Regions from separate parts of the Homo sapiens genome. Here all the other regions are linked to region 6. Evidence: promoter capture Hi-C in human tissues and cell types (Jung and others, 2019). All regions are on one chromosome and are shown on one strand. Each heading gives the region's core, a stretch centred on a gene start or on the middle of the fragment in contact. The rest is flanking DNA. Distances are from core to core; before and after follow the strand shown. Region 1 overlaps CEP164 (centrosomal protein 164). Region 2 overlaps DSCAML1 (DS cell adhesion molecule like 1). Region 3 holds the start of SCN2B (sodium voltage-gated channel beta subunit 2). Region 4 has its middle 15 kb from the start of MPZL2. Region 5 overlaps DSCAML1 (DS cell adhesion molecule like 1). Region 6 holds the start of FXYD2 (FXYD domain containing ion transport regulator 2).

What was found. Contacts are between HindIII fragments. The study calls those that stand out against the background at their distance.
Region 1: a contact is called between a fragment that was not itself captured here and the fragment with the promoter of FXYD2 in region 6, in 1 of the 25 tissues and cell types used here (hippocampus).
Region 2: a contact is called between a fragment that was not itself captured here and the fragment with the promoter of FXYD2 in region 6, in 5 of the 25 tissues and cell types used here (dorsolateral prefrontal cortex, heart left ventricle, lymphoblastoid cells and 2 more).
Region 3: a contact is called between the fragment with the promoter of SCN2B here and the fragment with the promoter of FXYD2 in region 6, in 1 of the 25 tissues and cell types used here (mesendoderm cells).
Region 4: a fragment that was not itself captured here is called in contact with the fragment with the promoter of FXYD2 in region 6 in 1 of the 25 tissues and cell types used here (mesenchymal stem cells).
Region 5: a contact is called between a fragment that was not itself captured here and the fragment with the promoter of FXYD2 in region 6, in 1 of the 25 tissues and cell types used here (dorsolateral prefrontal cortex).

The regions. Positions count from the first base shown.
Region 1 is chr11:117,391,455-117,394,154 of GRCh38, reverse strand. It overlaps CEP164 (centrosomal protein 164), which reads right to left. Exons shown (of 33, transcript NM_014956.5): 18 at 1,852-1,929; 19 at 1,528-1,659; 20 at 1,029-1,151. Among named protein-coding and RNA genes, the nearest start is that of CEP164, 65 kb to the right of the region's middle. The HindIII fragment of the contact is 6,096 bases long and covers 1-2,700 here.
Region 2 is chr11:117,442,809-117,445,508 of GRCh38, reverse strand. It overlaps DSCAML1 (DS cell adhesion molecule like 1), which reads left to right. Exons shown (of 33, transcript NM_020693.4): 21 at 1,470-1,623. Among named protein-coding and RNA genes, the nearest start is that of CEP164, 120 kb to the right of the region's middle. RefSeq lists an enhancer at 1,973-2,700. The HindIII fragment of the contact is 4,661 bases long and covers 1-2,700 here.
Region 3 is chr11:118,175,341-118,178,040 of GRCh38, reverse strand. SCN2B (sodium voltage-gated channel beta subunit 2) reads left to right here and starts at 1,402. Exons shown (of 4, transcript NM_004588.5): 1 at 1,402-1,679. The coding sequence starts at 1,610. The HindIII fragment of the contact is 9,424 bases long and covers 1-1,774 here.
Region 4 is chr11:118,277,598-118,280,297 of GRCh38, reverse strand. No RefSeq gene overlaps it. Among named protein-coding and RNA genes, the nearest start is that of MPZL2, 15 kb to the right of the region's middle. RefSeq lists an enhancer at 2,570-2,700. The HindIII fragment of the contact is 5,787 bases long and covers 1-2,700 here.
Region 5 is chr11:117,466,062-117,468,761 of GRCh38, reverse strand. All of the region lies in intron 16 of DSCAML1 (DS cell adhesion molecule like 1), which reads left to right. Among named protein-coding and RNA genes, the nearest start is that of CEP164, 140 kb to the right of the region's middle. The HindIII fragment of the contact is 8,518 bases long and covers 1-2,700 here.
Region 6 is chr11:117,823,301-117,826,000 of GRCh38, reverse strand. FXYD2 (FXYD domain containing ion transport regulator 2) reads left to right here and starts at 1,257. Exons shown (of 6, transcript NM_001680.5): 1 at 1,257-1,347. The coding sequence starts at 1,323. The region is part of intron 6 of FXYD6-FXYD2 (FXYD6-FXYD2 readthrough); the gene reads left to right. RefSeq lists enhancers at 411-963, 964-1,517. The HindIII fragment of the contact is 16,763 bases long and covers 1-2,700 here.

The sequences.
Region 1 (2,700 bases), core at 94-2,593, 430 kb after region 6:
AGCTGAAGCAGAGGCTGGTCAGACACCACGACAGATTCCCTTTCTGGCTCTCCCTATGGCTCCACCATATACAACTTTTCCTCTGTAAGGAATGAGAGGTCACTGATAAATTATCACTATTCTTCAGCAAGGTCATAATTGGTTGGGGGAAGGGATATGGCAAATTTCATCATGGGACTGCTATTTCTGCCCTGGGAAAGATCCTAGAAAGAGTCTGGGATACTGGTTCCAGTTACTGGAGCAGTAGTCTTAACACCCTGCAGGGTCCCAGCTGTGGGCTATAGTCAGCCACCCTCTACCCACCCATTGTTCACCCTCAATGTGAGCAAGGCAGGCCAGCTTGGGTAAACTCAAGTCGCTGAACTTTCCTACCTTAAGACCAAAGGCTTAAAATGGGGAGAATATCAGTATTACTTGGCTCTTGCCAGTCTATTTCTTGGTGTCCCAAGATGTTGAGGAACCCTGGTGACACAGCATTGCAGTGAGGAAACTGAAGGCTTTGGAGTCAGATGGCCTGGGCTTGAATCCTAGCTCTTCTACTTATTGGCTGGGTGTGATCTTGGGAAGCTACTTAAACTCTCCAAGTCTCAGTGCCCTCATCTTTAAAATGGAGACAATGATAGTAGATCCTTCCTAAGGCTGGTGTGAGGACTAAATGAGTTAAAATAGATAAAGAGCTCAGAACAGTTCTTGGCACACAGTACAAGCTCAATGTATGGGGGTTCTTTTTACTATCAGAAGAAAGTACAGCCTGCCTGATAAAAGAGGAATTGCCCCCCATTAGGTGGAGGTTTTTCTCATGTTTTAATAAAAAAGGCAAAAAACATCATCGTGGCAGGGTACCAGGAAGGAAAACCTCCCACAATCCCTGACCACAGTTTATCCCCTTCCTCTGCCCCACAGCCAGGTGGGAAGGACCCCGGGGTGTGTGTGCATGTGCGTGCATGTGTGTGTGCATGTGTGTGTGCATGTGCGTGCATGTGTGTGTGCATGTGTGTGCATGCGCGCAGGGGATGTGGCTGAGCTACCTCAGCTTCATACTGCTCTCTGGCCTTAGCCATCACTTGCTGGTGCTCCTCCTTCATCTTGTCCAACCTCCTCTCATGCTCCCCTTCCACTTCCTGGCGCTTCTCTCGCAGGAGACTGCTGAGCTGCAGGGGAGATGGCAGGGATGTGGCATGAAGAACCGAGGCGGACCAGCACTCAGGGCCTGCTGCACCTGAAGGTCTTACACACATTTCCCCAATCTCCCCCAACACACACAACACATGCACATCACACAGCCATGACACCATGGTCAGCACACAGCCATACCCCAACACCCCCTCCCCACATGCATACAGGGGCATCAGATTGGAGGAGTACCTGGCTTCAAGGGAACTAAGGCATAAAAAGGGAACTAGAAATGCTAACCCCAGCTGAGCCATCCAAAGCAAACTGGAGGCCGCTGAGGCTAGGCCGGCTCAGCTGACTGTAAGAGAGTCCACAACAGGCGCACACGACTGTGGAAGACAGAGCAGCACTCACCTCGTGCTCATACCCAGCCACGTGATAAGACTTCTGGTGAACTCTGTGCTCCACTTGCCCAAGGCACTTCTGCAGCTGGGCCTCCTCTTTCTGTTGAGCTTCCTGTATCTTCTTCTGGAGGCTGGAGACCACCTGAGGAGGCCCCCGCACACACAGGGGAGTGTGACCCTCAGACAGACTGTACAGCTGCTGTGTGGGGATGTGTTCTGAGGACCTGGCATCCATCCCCCAGGGCTGGAGAGAGAGGCTCGCTGCCTAGTAGCCAGGGATGGGGCTGAATTCTGCTAATCAGCCATGAAGGGGGCCCAGGATGCTGCATCTTACCTCCCGGTGCTTGGCCTCCAATGAGGAGCAGAGCCGCTCCAGCTCAGCACTGTGCTCCTTCTCCAGCGTTGCCACAGCCTGGGGAGGAGCAAAGGGACTGTGAGTGAAGCTGGCCAGGTACTGATCATGGTGGGAGGCGGAGCCAGGAAGACTACCGACCCCCAAGCCCTCGAGATCAGGGTCAAGGGAAGCATGGGGAAGCACAGCACATCTTTGTTCCTCTGAAATAACTCAGCCCCTGAAGTCTACAACTGGCAAATGAACAGGAACATGAAGGTCAGAGGAGAGGGGCATTTCAGTAAGTTTCGGCTCTCTGCTCCCACCCCCTGCCTTTAGACTAGGCCACAGATCCACAGATGGTGCTCATGCTGGTAAATAAGATCCAAGCCAGGGGGGCCAGGTTGGATGCTGTCATTAAGTCGGGCCATGTAGAATTTTCTTTTTATTTTGGTGAGGTGCAAAGCTGCAGCTATTAGACAAGGAAAACACTACAGCAGGAGTAGGGAAGTGCACTGTACTACAAGTGCTCAGAGAGACTGTGCTAAAACCTTCAGAAGCCCACCATCTGACTGGAGTAGAAGAGGGAGTATGGACAAAGAGAAAATCCTTGCTATATTGCTAGCCTCTCATCCTAAGAAAGGAGAGAAAAGTGGGGAGTGAGGCCCTTGCAGCTGTCCCTCAGAGACAGTGAGGGACAGAGCGCCTTTGTCTCAAAACCTCTGGTCTGGCTAAATCTCTTTCAGTCACGAACTTTCTCAAATCCACAGGACGCTCTCCCTCAAGCCTCTGAGGGTTCTCTGCTTGACAACCTCCAGCCGCCACTGCCATCCAGCCTGACCCTGGAGGAGC
Region 2 (2,700 bases), core at 150-2,649, 380 kb after region 6:
GCAACCTTACGGGCTGTATGCCCAGGAGGAAGGGCAGGAGGGTGTTGAAGCCACTACACTACCCCACACTTCAAGCACATATCAACGACAGATACGCACACCAGTCCCAGGGTGCTGTGGCCTGAAAGGGCTTCCCAACCACCAGGGCTCAAGGGTGGCTCTGCACCTGCCCCCCCGGACCTCCTGGATTCAAGGCCAGACCCCCACGAGGGAGGCAGGAGGAATATGCCAGGGAGCTGTGTGTGTGTGTTGCAGAGATGCCTGTGCCTTTTCCCCTAACATTTCCCTGCAGATGGCCTGGGGCCAAAAAGGATGTCTCCTCCTGTTATAAGTTATTGGGCCTCTCAGCCCCACTATGGGGCATGAAGAATGTCCCTCTGTGCCCATACATGCCTGGAGGTCTGTTCCTCAGCATGTGTGCATGCGTCTACATGTGTGTGTGCTTGTGAGCGTGTGTGTGCAAGATCCTGTGACTGCAGAGATAACTAATTATTAGCTCCCTCTGGCCTCGGGCCCCCATCTGTTCTGGGGCTGCTCTCCCTCCCTGGACTTCCGCTCTGTTTTCAAAGGGGCCCTGGTGCTGTCCTCCTCTCCCTTCCCTGCGGCTGACCAAAAAATAAAATAAAATGAAAGTCAGCCCCATCCCGCCCGTGCCAGGGAAGAGGCTGACAGGAGGTCTGCAAACTAGCGCTTATCAAAAGCTCCTTCTCAAATTCATTTCAATATCTGAGCCTCTGGTTTCCAAGGCAACATAATCTTTTCATCAAAGCAACTGGTAAAACCACTGGGATCCGATATTGTTTTGTTGGCAACTTGTCAAAACTGTCATTTTGTTAAAAAAAATTTTATAGATTTGTATAACCTACAAATATATATGGTGATCTATACCACTAATAATCATTAATAAAGTGCTACCCAGTAAAGCTTTCATAGTTCCTTCTCCCGCCCCCTCCTCCCTGGACGGGCGGGCGTGCTGCCTGCAAAATGCAGGAGTGGTAATTAGACGGCAGGGCTAGGAGGTGACGGGAGCCAGAGCAGGCTGCAGGAGCCTGTCTCCAACCCTCATCAGGCAGAGGCAGTCATTTGCCTTCTTCCTGAAGACTCTTTCCTCAGGGCTTTCCTGGGACCCCCTGTCCCCCATTCTCCCTTCTCCTGGCTACCCCGTCCCTCACCTAAAGTACTCACATCCCCTGGCCTGAGCCACAGCTGCCAGAGCGTGGATCAGTTAAAGAGGTAAACTGAGGCTGACCCAGCAACACCGCGAGGCAGGCCCATCAGCTCCCAGGGACCAAACCCAGGGCACACTCTGTCCGCTGCATCTCTAAAACTTGGAAAGGGCAAATAGGACAGAATCCTGCCTCGCATCCGACCCCGCCATCCTCTCCTCTGAGCCCCGGGCACTGAGGAAGATTTGGACGCTGGAGGGCCCCAGTTCTGCTTCTTAGAGCCTCTTTGCCTCTGCCCCGCAGGCTCCCAGCGAGTACGAGACGAGTCCAGAGCAGCTCTTCTACCGGATCGCCCACCTAAACCGCGGTCAGCAGTATCTGCTGTGGGTGGCCGCCGTCACCTCTGCCGGCCGGGGCAACAGCAGCGAGAAGGTGACCATCGAGCCTGCTGGCAAGGGTGAGAAGCCTGAGGCTGTGGCAGAGGGGCAAACACTTCCAAAAGCTCCCTTACAGAATCCTGGTTCTCCCCAGACAGGGTCTCTGCCTGCTCCGCTTTATCTGCCACCCAGCTGTGAGGAACTGGCCACCCGCCTGCCTCCCGCACACACCAAGACTGGGCCTCTGCTGCCCCCTGACTCCAGCAAAGCCTCACAACAGGCTGCCTCCGGCTCTTGCCTGGGGCGGGTGGACAGGGTGCACTCAGTTCCCGAGTCCAAACCCTACTCCCAGCTTGAAAAAGGGGGAGTCGCCTCTACCCCCAATTCAAAGCCGGGCCTTTGTCCCAATGCTCAGCTCCTCCAGAGGTGGCTACAGCCGGGTGTGCTGCTTCCACAGAGCAGCTGAGGCTCAAAGGAGAGCCCCCGTGCTGAACTGGACACCGGGCAGGGGTGATTCCAGCGATGGCGGATTCCTGCGATCCGCAGACCTTTACGGAGCGCGTGCTGTGAAGGAAGGCTCTGGGCTAGAATCAGACCCTCTTAGGGAGTGCCCCACTGAATCTCTGACCGGGACATGGGTGTGCCATGGGGGCTGCACCCCCACTTTTCAGAGGAATGACACTTCCAAGGCCTCATCCCAAGGGCAAGCTGTAGCAGCCGCGCAGGTAGAGCTGCAAGGCTGAGCGTCTGCCTCTCCCTGGGGCGTAGGAACTGGCCACAACTAGCCCAGGACCGCAGGTCCTCTACTTGCCGTTGGGCCTCCCTGGGCCCCTCCTCACTCCCCCACTCTCTTATCCACCGCAGCCCAGACGAGAGGAGGTGGTGCCTGCGCAGCCTGGCCAGCCTACCGGGGCCACTCAAGCTTCTCTTGGCCCAAACACAAGAGCCCCAAGCCCTACCCTGCCGCGGGCTCAGAGCCAGCCAGCATCTGATCGAGGGCCTACGGTGGGCCAGGGGCTTCCACCTGCCCTGCCAGCAGGGCTTGTTGACCCATTCCACAGCTGAGCAACCTGAGGCAGGAGTGGCATGGGCTGCAAAGACAACCGGGAAGGAGTGAGCTAGCTCTCCCAGCGCCAAGTCAGGGCTCTTTCCACACA
Region 3 (2,700 bases), core at 153-2,652, 350 kb before region 6:
CCATCTCCCCAGGAGTATGGGGGTCACCTCTGCTTAGGACCACCTTGGACTCCACCCACCAAGTTCTCCTACTTATGACGTTAGCTTATTTTTTCTTCCTTCTTCAAAAGAAAAGTTTTAAACATACACAAAAGAAGAGAGAACTATATGACAAACCCTTTACACCCATCACCAGCTAGTTTCAATTATCAAGCAAAACAACTAGTCTCGTGTCACCTATTCTCCCATCTCTTTTTTTCGTTGAATATATATATATGTATTTTTGAGATGGAGTCTCACTCTGTGGCCCAGGCTGGGATGTAGCGGAGTGATCTCGACTCACTGCAACCTCCGCCTCCCAGGTTCAAGCAATTCTCCTGCCTCAGTCCCCCCAAGTAGCTGGGATTACAGGCACACGCCACCACACCCGGCTAACTTTTGTATTTTTAGTAGAGACAGGGTTTCACCATGTTAGGGAGGCTGGTCTCGAACTCCTGACCTCAGGTGATCTGCCTGCCTCGGCCTCCCAAAGTGCTGGGATTACAGGTGTGAGCCACCCCGCCCGGCCACCCATGTGTGTCTTTAACAGATAGAGATGTTAAAGGACAAAACCACATTTTATCAGACCCAACAAAATTAAGAATGATTCATTAATACAATCTACTATGTAGTTCATATTTAACTTTTCCCAATTGTCTCAAAAACTTTTCTTTCCTGTTGATTTGTTTGAATCAGGTTTATCCAAAGGCCTGTGTTACATTCAATTGTAAGATCTCTTGGGTATTTTTCTATCAGCCTGCTTCAACATGTTCTGTTTTCAGAGGAAACGCTAGAATGAGGAAAGCATTACCCCTTGAAAGTCTCTCCAACTCACTTTCCTGAACCCTTTTCAATAACACAAAAACAAGCATCTCCTTTTTTTTTTTAGGTTTTTTTTTTTTTTTTCCCTCTGGAGGCAGGGCCCAGGCTGGAGTGCGGTGCAGTAGCTGGGACAAGAGGCATGCGACATTATGCCTGGCTAAATTTTGTATTTTTAGTAGAGATGGGTTTTGCCATGTTGCCCAGGCTGGTCTTGAACTCCTGGACTCAAGCAATCCATCCGGCCTCCCAAAGTGCTGGAATTACAGGTGTGAGCCACTGCGTCAGCCTGGGGGTGTTTTTAAATGATAAAAGGTGTTTCCCTTTCCAGAATCTTTAAAATAAATGGATTCCTCTAATAGCTTTCAAAATCCAACAATCATCCCAGTGAAGTCAAAAAGCAGGGTTTGTATTATTTCTTGTTTTAGAGGGTAAAAATTTCTGGGATTTTGTTCTTTTCAAAATGACTTTTTTATGCCCTCCCACCTGCTTTTTGAAATCCACCAACCACAATATTTACCCCATCCCCCTTTTCTCTCCCCCCCATCTCTCTCTCTCTCCTTTACACACTCCCTCTCTCTCTCTTTTTAGCAGCAACATACAAGCCGGCCATATTAGAGAGATGGAAATAAAGCTTCCTTAATGTTGTATATGTCTTTGAAGTACATCCGTGCATTTTTTTTTAGCATCCAACCATTCCTCCCTTGTAGTTCTCGCCCCCTCAAATCACCCTCTCCCGTAGCCCACCCGACTAACATCTCAGTCTCTGAAAATGCACAGAGATGCCTGGCTACCTCGCCCTGCCTTCAGCCTCACGGGGCTCAGTCTCTTTTTCTCTTTGGGTAAGTTAGACACATCTGCATGCTCCCGAGGGTTCAGAAGTGTAGCCGCAATGTGAAGAGGATGGGGGCAGGGGATAGGAAAGAAGACATTGCTAGCGCTTTCCCTCTGTGTCCTTGGGAGGGGAGGTGCTGGGGACTGGAAGGGACGTTGCTGGGGAGTGCAGAACCCTGGGACTACTTAGTCACAGAAATGTTGGGTCAGGGGATCTGAGTGTTGCTGGGGGCTGACAATTGTCAAGGGAGGTGAATCTTCTCTGGATTTCCCCTAAGTGGACCTACGTGGCGGTGGGGCAGAGAGTGGATTGACCTGCAGTCTCTTCAGGGATTATTTTTTGGAGTTGCTGCAAATGCGGGGTCCTGGGACTTAATGCTCCCTTAAGGGGCTTCTTTTCAGAAGCTTGATCCTGGTGGATTTAGGGTATTAGGAGAGTGTGCAGGGGAGCTGGTGGCAGAAAGTTGAGTCTGGGTCTGGCTTCTTGGCACTCGGTCTCACTGATCTGTTGGAACGTGTGTGGGAGTAGGTGGGAAGCGGGCTTGGGGAATGATGTCTGGGTTGGGAGGAGACCTGCTGAGGCACGCACTGATGGAGAAGGCACCTTTGGCTTGGGCCGGATGGAATGGAGGAAGGGCCAGGTGTAGAGATTCAGGAAAAAAATGGAACCCACAGGCTGAGCGAGGTTGCAGCCCTTTAAATCCAGCCTCAGAACTGCCCAGCCCAGTCTTGCAGACTGTCCTGTCAAGTGTTTGTATTTGACCACTCAGAGACTTCCTGGTGGGGAAGTGGGCTAGAAAGTTATTTGCAAGCCTGCTTTGTAGAGTTTCATTCTTGCTCCTAAACTTACTTATTGCTGGAGCAGCAACTGAGAGTCAAGTCCAAGGACTGTTGATGGAACTATTCCCCACCACAAAGGCTCTCTCTCTTTCTGTGGTGTGATGTGCTGGGTTTGGAGTAGGAGTGCTAAACACAGACAGTGCAGAGGCCCTGCCAGCCTGCTTTGCTGAGTTACTTGGCATATTAACA
Region 4 (2,700 bases), core at 112-2,611, 450 kb before region 6:
TATCTTTTAACAGAAGTTATATTTATGGGCAAAATGATATGGTATCTTCAATTTGCTTCAAAATAATATTGGGTGGGTAGATAAAGACATAAATGACCATGGGTTGCTGATAATAAGGGCTGGGTGATAGGACATGGGGTTTGTTATATTATTTTATCTACATTTGTATATGTTTGAAATGTTCCATAGTAAAAAGCAAAAAAAAAAAAAAAAAAATTATTGACTTTGTGTGAGCCCATGAGAAAAGCTTTGGATTTAGAGACAGAACTCCCAGATTCAGCCCTAATTTTTCCATTTATTTTCTAGCCAGAGTGAGCTGAGTAACTGGGTAAACTGTTTCATCTCTGTCATCCTCATTTTCCTTATCTAAAGTAGATGAGGAAAATTGGGTAGAATAGAATAGTGAGAATTAAATGATACAATGTATTCAAATGCTTTGCAAAGAGCTTTGCAGATGGAAGGTTCTAGTATCTGGGTTGTGAATTCCATGAAGCTAAATATGGCATCTTCATATATTTTTTTTCAGCACAGTGTTAGACATATAACAGGTGCTCTATAATTATTCAGCCTTAGTTTTTAAATTCAATTTAAACATTATTTGGTAGATGAATGAATGGGTATATTCCAAATCCTAGGTTTCAGCCCAACATAGTACCATTCTTGATCATTAACTTAGTAATTAAAACTTATAAAGAGTGAATAAAAGTAGGAGACACATTCTGACAATTAGTATTTAATTAGTGTTTATTATTTAATCGACATTATCAATTAGTTTTAATTTAATCATGTTCAAATAGAATATATTATGATACAGATTACATTTGCTCCTTTCCTTTCATGGTTGCACCTAGGCTGAAAACAGAGGAAGGTGGGAAGCCCTTGTTCAGTGTAGATATCCCAGTCTTAGAGATGATCTTCACTTAGATGCAAAGATAAGCCAAGTTAAAGCTGGGACTGAGTTTTAGGTTGTCACTTCACTTCCTTAGTAAACTTCTTTAGGTTCCAACAGTGGGAGCTCCATACTGCTTAGCATCACTGAGGTGTGGGGCACACAGATGCTTCAGTAAGAATGCATTCACTCATCCAGCAAATGCGTATTGAGCATCTACTATGTGCCTAACAGTTAGGTGTTGGGGATACAGAGACATGAACCCTGCCCTGGAGGGATTCAGTCTACAGTAGAGGCAGACGTGTAAACAAGTAATGACCATACAGTGCAGCAAAGGCTATAAAAAAGGTGTCCCAAGGTGCTAAGGGAACTATTAACTCCAGGTCCAGGGGACAGGGAAGGCTTCATGGAATGTGAACTTAATTTTGAAAGGCAAATAAGAGTTGATCAGCTGGATAAAGTAGACAGAACATATGCACAAATATATATGTGGAGGTAAGAACAAGTATGTGATTAGTTTGGCATAGTGATGAATAAGGCTTAAGGAGCCTGGAAAGTGGGGAAAGAGGGGCTGGTTAGTTGACAGAGGCAGATCATGAAAGGCCTTAATCTGTGAATTAAGAAGAGCCAGTTAAGGTATACATCCAGCTTAATAAGATAAGAGACCTTAAAGTAAATGGAAAATTATACCTTTATTATAGTTATGCACAAAACAGTTTTTAAAGAGGTTTTTTTTTTTTTGAGACAGAGTCTTGCTCTGTTGCCCAGGCTGGAGTGCAGTGGCGTGATCTCGTCTCACTGCAACCTCCATCTCCTGGGTTCAAGCAATTCTCCTGTCTCAGCCTCCTGAGTAGCTGGGACTACAGGCACACACCACCATGCCCAGCTAATTTTAGTATTTTTAGTAGAGACGGGGTTTCACCATGTTGGCCAGGATGGCCTCGATCTCTTGATCTAATGATCCGCCCACCTCAGCCTCTCAAAGTGCTGGGATTACAGGTATGAGCCACCGATCCTGGCCTAAAGAGCTTTTAAAGAGAATCCTGTCTTTTAAAGGATCCTCAGGGACCATTTATGCATTTCACAAGTCATCATACTTATGATTTTATAATCAGTGCCTGGTTTGGTCATTCACTTTCTTACTTTCTTTGGATTTGATCTACATGACTTTTAAATGTGTCCAAAAATCAAGCCCATTCTCAAAAGCATGAGGATTTGCCATCAGTAAAAATCTCAAGGCTGGATGCAGTGGCTCATGTCTGTAATTCCAACACTTTGGGAGGCTGTGGTGAGTGGATCACTTGAGGTCAAGAGTTTGAGACTAGCCTGGCCAACATGGTGAAACCCTGTCTCTACTAAAAATACAAATAAAATACAAACTTAGCCGGGCATGGTGGCACGTGCCTGTAGTCCCAGCTACTAGGGAGGCTGAGGTGGGAGAATTGCTTGAGCCCAGGAGGCAGAGGTTGCAGTGAGCCGAGATTGCATCACTGCACTACAGCCTGCGCAACAGAGCGAGACCCTGGTTTTTTTTTTTTAAATCGAAAAATGTTATGATTCAAACTCCTAAGGCAATTCTAAAAATGTTCTAGAAATATCTGGAATAACGTCAGCATCATTAGAATAAAAGCTTGTCCCCAAGGTGACAACTTTAAATGACAATTTTTCTTTGGCTTTAAAAGCTTCTTTTCCTCTTGGTTATTGCTAATGTAGCTCAGCAGATATTGACACTCAAGACAGCATATAACATTGGAACAAACTGCAAGAAAAGAGCGATGTTGCTGGGACTTTTCCCTGAGTTTTCCCCTTTC
Region 5 (2,700 bases), core at 49-2,548, 360 kb after region 6:
ATAGCAGCAGCCTGGTTCCTTCCCTCCCAGAGGCATGACCAAGAGGAAAGCGAGGTAGGGCTGGGCAGCTGGTCCTTCCTGGGGGCAGCCCACCTAGTGGATACCTGGAGCCAGGGTTCCTCTCCAGATTCAGATCTGGGTTCCAGGGCTCTCCTCAGAAAGTGGGGTGAGGCCGGGCATCCAATCCCAAACTCTTGGCTGCGTCCTGGCTGTGGACCTGTATCCTAGAAACACTCCAAGGCAGCCAGGAGGTGGGGGCAGGGATGAATAAATATGTAAAGTACTGAAACATTGGGCTACAAAGCTCTGACCCACAGGTCGATAAAAATTTAGAATCAGATTTATTTCTCCAAAGTCTCATAATGAAAAATAAAATTGATTAGAAAGTTAGAACTTCAGAATGAACCAGGTGGTCAATAAATTTTGGGCTGACTTCTCAGGGGATTTTTTTTTTTAACATTGAGAAACAGATTAATGAAAAATAAAGATTCACTTGAAGATAAGTCACTTCATTTTAAGACCCTTTCCACGAGATGGATCGCCCCTGCTTTATGACATAAATTTGCAATCAGCCCTATTGATTTCTTAATGCTTCAGAGAAATATTGTTAAGATTGATTTAAATCCTGACTGTGGCTGTTTGGAGAGGCGGGGGACAGAGAAGGAGAGAAAAAAAGAGAGAGGAAGGAGGCAGGAAGGATCTGTGAAGATTTGTATAAATATGTGAATCTATCTGGATGGATAGATTGGGGTGTGCCTGCATGCCTGTCTGAGACCTGTCAGTATATGTGGATGTGGTCACGTGTGCAGGTATATATCATGGTATACATAGCTCTGGGCATGTAGGCAATCTGTGGCATAGTATAATGATGTTCAATGTGTGTCAGTATAGATACACGTACATGAAGCGTGAGAATGGGGGTCGATGTGAAGAGGAAGGTCTCAGGCTCTTGAAGATACATTTGTATCTATAATGATGTCTGTGTGTATGTGTGTGTGCATAGACATACATGTGTAGATACAAGACCCAAATGTAAAAATGTGTCCACTTACAGAGCAGCAAGCAGAACTGCCCAAGTGCAGAGAGAAACATTCAAGCAGCAACAAAGAGTAAAGTCAATTAAACACACACACACAGACACACACCTATTTAGTGAGTCCAAAACAATTATGTTAAATTAAAAACTTCATTTTATTAACAGTGAGCTTAAAAATGCAGTTCATTTAAAACATTCATTGACTAGAAAAAAAAACAGTAGTGCTGTTTTACTAACTTAATTGTTTTTATCTCACTATTTTTTAGTACAATAAAAGGTGGGCTTTTAAATTAACTTCATTGTCTTTAAAACCCCGATTCAAGCTGTTTTTAAATGCGCTGGGGTGGGTGTTCTGTCTCAATTTATAGATGGGCAGGCCCGGGCATTAAAGGAGCCAGTTTCTATTTGCGGATCTAAATGTATCTGGTTGGGAGTAGGGGTGTGGATTAAGATGTTTGCTTTGATGGGTCTGGATACGTGTTCCTGGTTCTGGGTGTGAATGGATATATTGGCGGCGGGGGGAGGGGGGAGGTGTGTGTGCACGCGCATGCGTGCGCGCACCTGGCTGGGTGTCTATCAGGGTTCGAGCCTGGGATGAGAGTTTTCCAGCCCCAGACCGATGCCAGTGGAGTTTCTCCATTCGCCTGGCTGACTGGGCTCAGTCTTCATTCCCACCAGCCCCCTTCTAACCTCCAAGTCCTTGCCATCTCTGTGCCTCCATCCAGGGCTCATTCGGGCCTCAGCCTTCACCATTCCCCAATCCCTGGCCTTGGCGTCTGGGGCACTGCAGCCTTAGAGTTCCCAGAGGGGCTGCACCCAGGTGAAAGTCAGGGATCTTTTTTTCTCTAGTTTTAACAAAATACATATAACTTAAAATCTACCATTTGAACCATGTTTAAGCGTGCAGCTCAATAGCAGTAAGCACATTCACAATGTTGTACAACCATCACCACTAGCACTTCCAGAGCTTTTTCATCCTCTCAAACTGAAATTCTGTACCCATGAACCATGAGCTCCCCGTGAAAGCTCTATTCCACCCTCCTTTTGTTGAGACAGAGTCTCACTCTGTCGATCTTGGCTCACTCCAACCTCCGCCTCCCGGGTTCAAGCGATTCTCCTGCCTCAGCCTCCTGAGTAGGTGGAACTACAGGTGTGTGCTACCACACCCAGCTAATTTTTTGTATTTTTAGTAGAGATGGGGTTTCACCATGTTGGCCAGACTGGTCTCGAACTCCTGACTCAACTGATCCACCCACCTCAGCCTCCCAAAGTGCTGAGATTACAGGCATGAGCCACCGCACCTGGCCTTTCTATTTTCTTCTGATTTTGACTATTCTAAGTACCACCTAAGTGGAATCGGACAAATAGCTTTTGTCCTTTTTTGTCTGGCCTATTTCTCTTAGTGCAGTGTCTTCAAGGTTCATCCGCGCTGTGACGGATGTCAGTGTTTTCTCCCTTTCATGGCTGCATACTATCCCATTGTATTGCACTATCGTATTCTGCTTCTCCACTCATCTCCTGGTGAACACTTGAGTTGCTTCCACCTTCTGGCTATTCTGAATAATGCTGCTTTGAACATGAGTGTACAAGTATCTCTCTGAATCCCTGTTTTCAATTATTTTGGGCATAAACCCTAGGAATGGAATTGCTGGATGGTATGGTTA
Region 6 (2,700 bases), core at 8-2,507:
CACAGAGAGGTGAAGTCATTGACTGAGACCACACCATTAGCAAGTGAGAGGGCCAGGGTGTGAACTCAAGTGCCAAGCCCTGCCCCTGCTTGGGGAGGATTCATGGATACAGTGGCTCCCTTCAGAAGGGCTCAAGCTCCCCTGCTGTCCGCTGGCCACTGACCTTGGCTGTTTTGTGGCCATTGGGCTTCAGCCTTTTCTGGAGGCCAATTCAATGGACTAGAACTCAACGAGGATTCTACAGTACCTGTGACTACCCGGCACAGGAGTCCTGGGGCGAAGGAGGTCACAGCGGAGTGGGGAGGCTGCCTGCGAGGTGTGGAAAGCATCTGCCTCCTGCAGCAGGAGGCCTGATTGTCAGTCTCCACTTCCCCCACACTGGCTGTGTGACCCTGGGCAAGGCCCCTACCTCTCTGTGCCTTAGACACCTGCCTCATCAGTAAAATGGGAAACATAAAGCTTGAGGAGAAAAAACAGTGAGGAAAGTGCTTGGTAAACCATAAACGCAGGGGGTTTTCCCCACGATGAAAGTCTTGCCCTGTCCTTAAGGATCCTGCATGCTCCATGGTAAACTGGCAAGGACACAATCCGAGAGCCAGGCCAAATGGTGGTAGGAGGAAGTGCCAGGGCGGCAGGGAAGGAGAAATTAGTTGGGGATGACTGAAGCCCTTCTGAATGAGGTGTAACCTGCAGGGTGCACGTTGATGGGTGAATAGGATGACAGATGAAGGGCCCTTCTGGAGGATCTACTGCTGGTCAGCTTTGGCGGTGCTCCAGGGATGTGGTGGGGGAGCAGTGGGCCAGGCTCCTAGGGACCACTGCAGGAAAGCCTCCAGTACCACATAAGGAACACCAGCTGCAGCGGCGGCATCCATGGTGGCTGGTGCGGTGGGCCCTGCCTGGGCTGGGGGCCACTGTGGGCCACTGCCCCCAGAAACTCCCAAGTACAGTGTACACTGAAGAGATTGTGCAACTTCCACTTTCCTGTTCCCACCGCCCCAGCTGTAGCTTCCCCAGCTGGCAGAACAGCACGACTGCTGACCCATCCCAACCCTTCTCTTTGGAAATTTCCTTTGGGAAGGTTTGGAAACTCAGCCAGCTCCTCCCTGCCCCTGCCTCCCCACGCACGTCCTCACCCTGCAGAAGGAGCCCCTCCATCCACACTGCAGCTTTTCTTGTGACCAGGGTAAATATTACCTGGCACTGTTAATGTTTAATGCCCGCACCTCGTCCCCGGCCACCCCGTGGAGGCAGCCAGACACTCTCCAAAAAGCAGAGACAGCAGGAAGAGGGGAGTGGAGGCAGCCCATTCACCTGGGGAAATGACTGGGTTGTCGATGGACGGTGGTGAGTGTGCTGGTGTGCGTGCCCGGGCGTGTGCAATGCTGGGTGGCTCTGATTGGCCTGCCTTTGTGGGGTCAGCTGGACCCTACTCTTCCCTCTCCTGCCACCTCAGCCTTCCAGAGTACCCAGCCCCTCTTCCTGTCGGCCTCCTCTCTAAGAAAATTTGCAACTTAAAGGAGGACCCTGCTTTAACCCCAAAGAAAGATAGCTTGAGTGGCAGAAAGGCAGCAGATAGAAGCTGGAGAGCTGAGCGTTCCTCCTCGGCCTCCTGGCACACACCCGCCCTGAGTTCAATGCATCTTGCTAGACCGTCTGAACTTGGGCGGGAGGCAGACGGCGTCCATCTGGCTGGGGAAGGAGCAGGCCCCTCTGGTCAGCCTTCCTAGGCTGGATTTGGGGTGAGAGCCCGCCAAGTTCAAGTCACACTCTCCAAAGGCTTCCTGTCACAGGAACTGACTCAGGCCTGGAAACCAAGAGGGGCACTTGCTGACAGAGGTGGGTTTTGAGCCAGATGCAGAAAGGGGAGGGTGCTGGGCAGGGAGGGTCTCAGCAAGCGGCTCAGGGCCAGGTGGCCACGGAGGAGGAGGTTTCCTGGGGCGTGTGGGGAAGCCTCAGCTGGCGTCTAGCTGTTGCTCTGACACTTAAATCCCCATATGACCTTAAACAAGGCCTGAACCAAATCTGGGAAGACAGCCCTGACGGCCTTCTGTGTGGGACCTGGGTCCTTCATGGCCTCCCTGAGCACCCAGCACCTCAGGCCCGTCAGGATGGGCACTGACTCTTCCTGGCCTGTCCTTTCCTGGCCCAGGGACTGGCCGCTGGGGACAGCTGGGCTTGACAGACCCTAAGTCTCACTGCTGCTCAGGGGCACAGTTTGGCACAGCCCGGAAAGTGCTAACTTGCGCGTTCCTTCCTCCTCGGGCTCCACTTCCCTCGTGCGAGAAGGGGCTCCGGCAGGGCAGGAAAGAGTAGCGGCCCTTAGCTGTGGCAGAAGCGTCCTGGCCAGGCCACCGTCTGGCTGTCCGGGGCAAGTGTACTCAGTTGCAGGGCACCACTGTGAGACCTGCCTGCTGAGCGGCTCCAAATCCGGGGGAGGCCACCAGAGGCAGGGGCAGGACCTTACCTCTAACGGGCTCCTTCCCTCCCGCCATTGAGAGGTGGCAGATCAAAGGGCTTATGCACCTCCATTCTCAGCCCCCTGCTTCCTGGGTTCAAACACCAGCTCTACCCCTGACTTGCTGTATAACTGTGGGGGAATTTCTTCTCTGCACTTCCACCCTCTTGTGGATTACACCAGAATGACATTGACGCCTCATAAGGTTGCCATAATGGTTAGATGAGTTAGGGTTTGTTAGT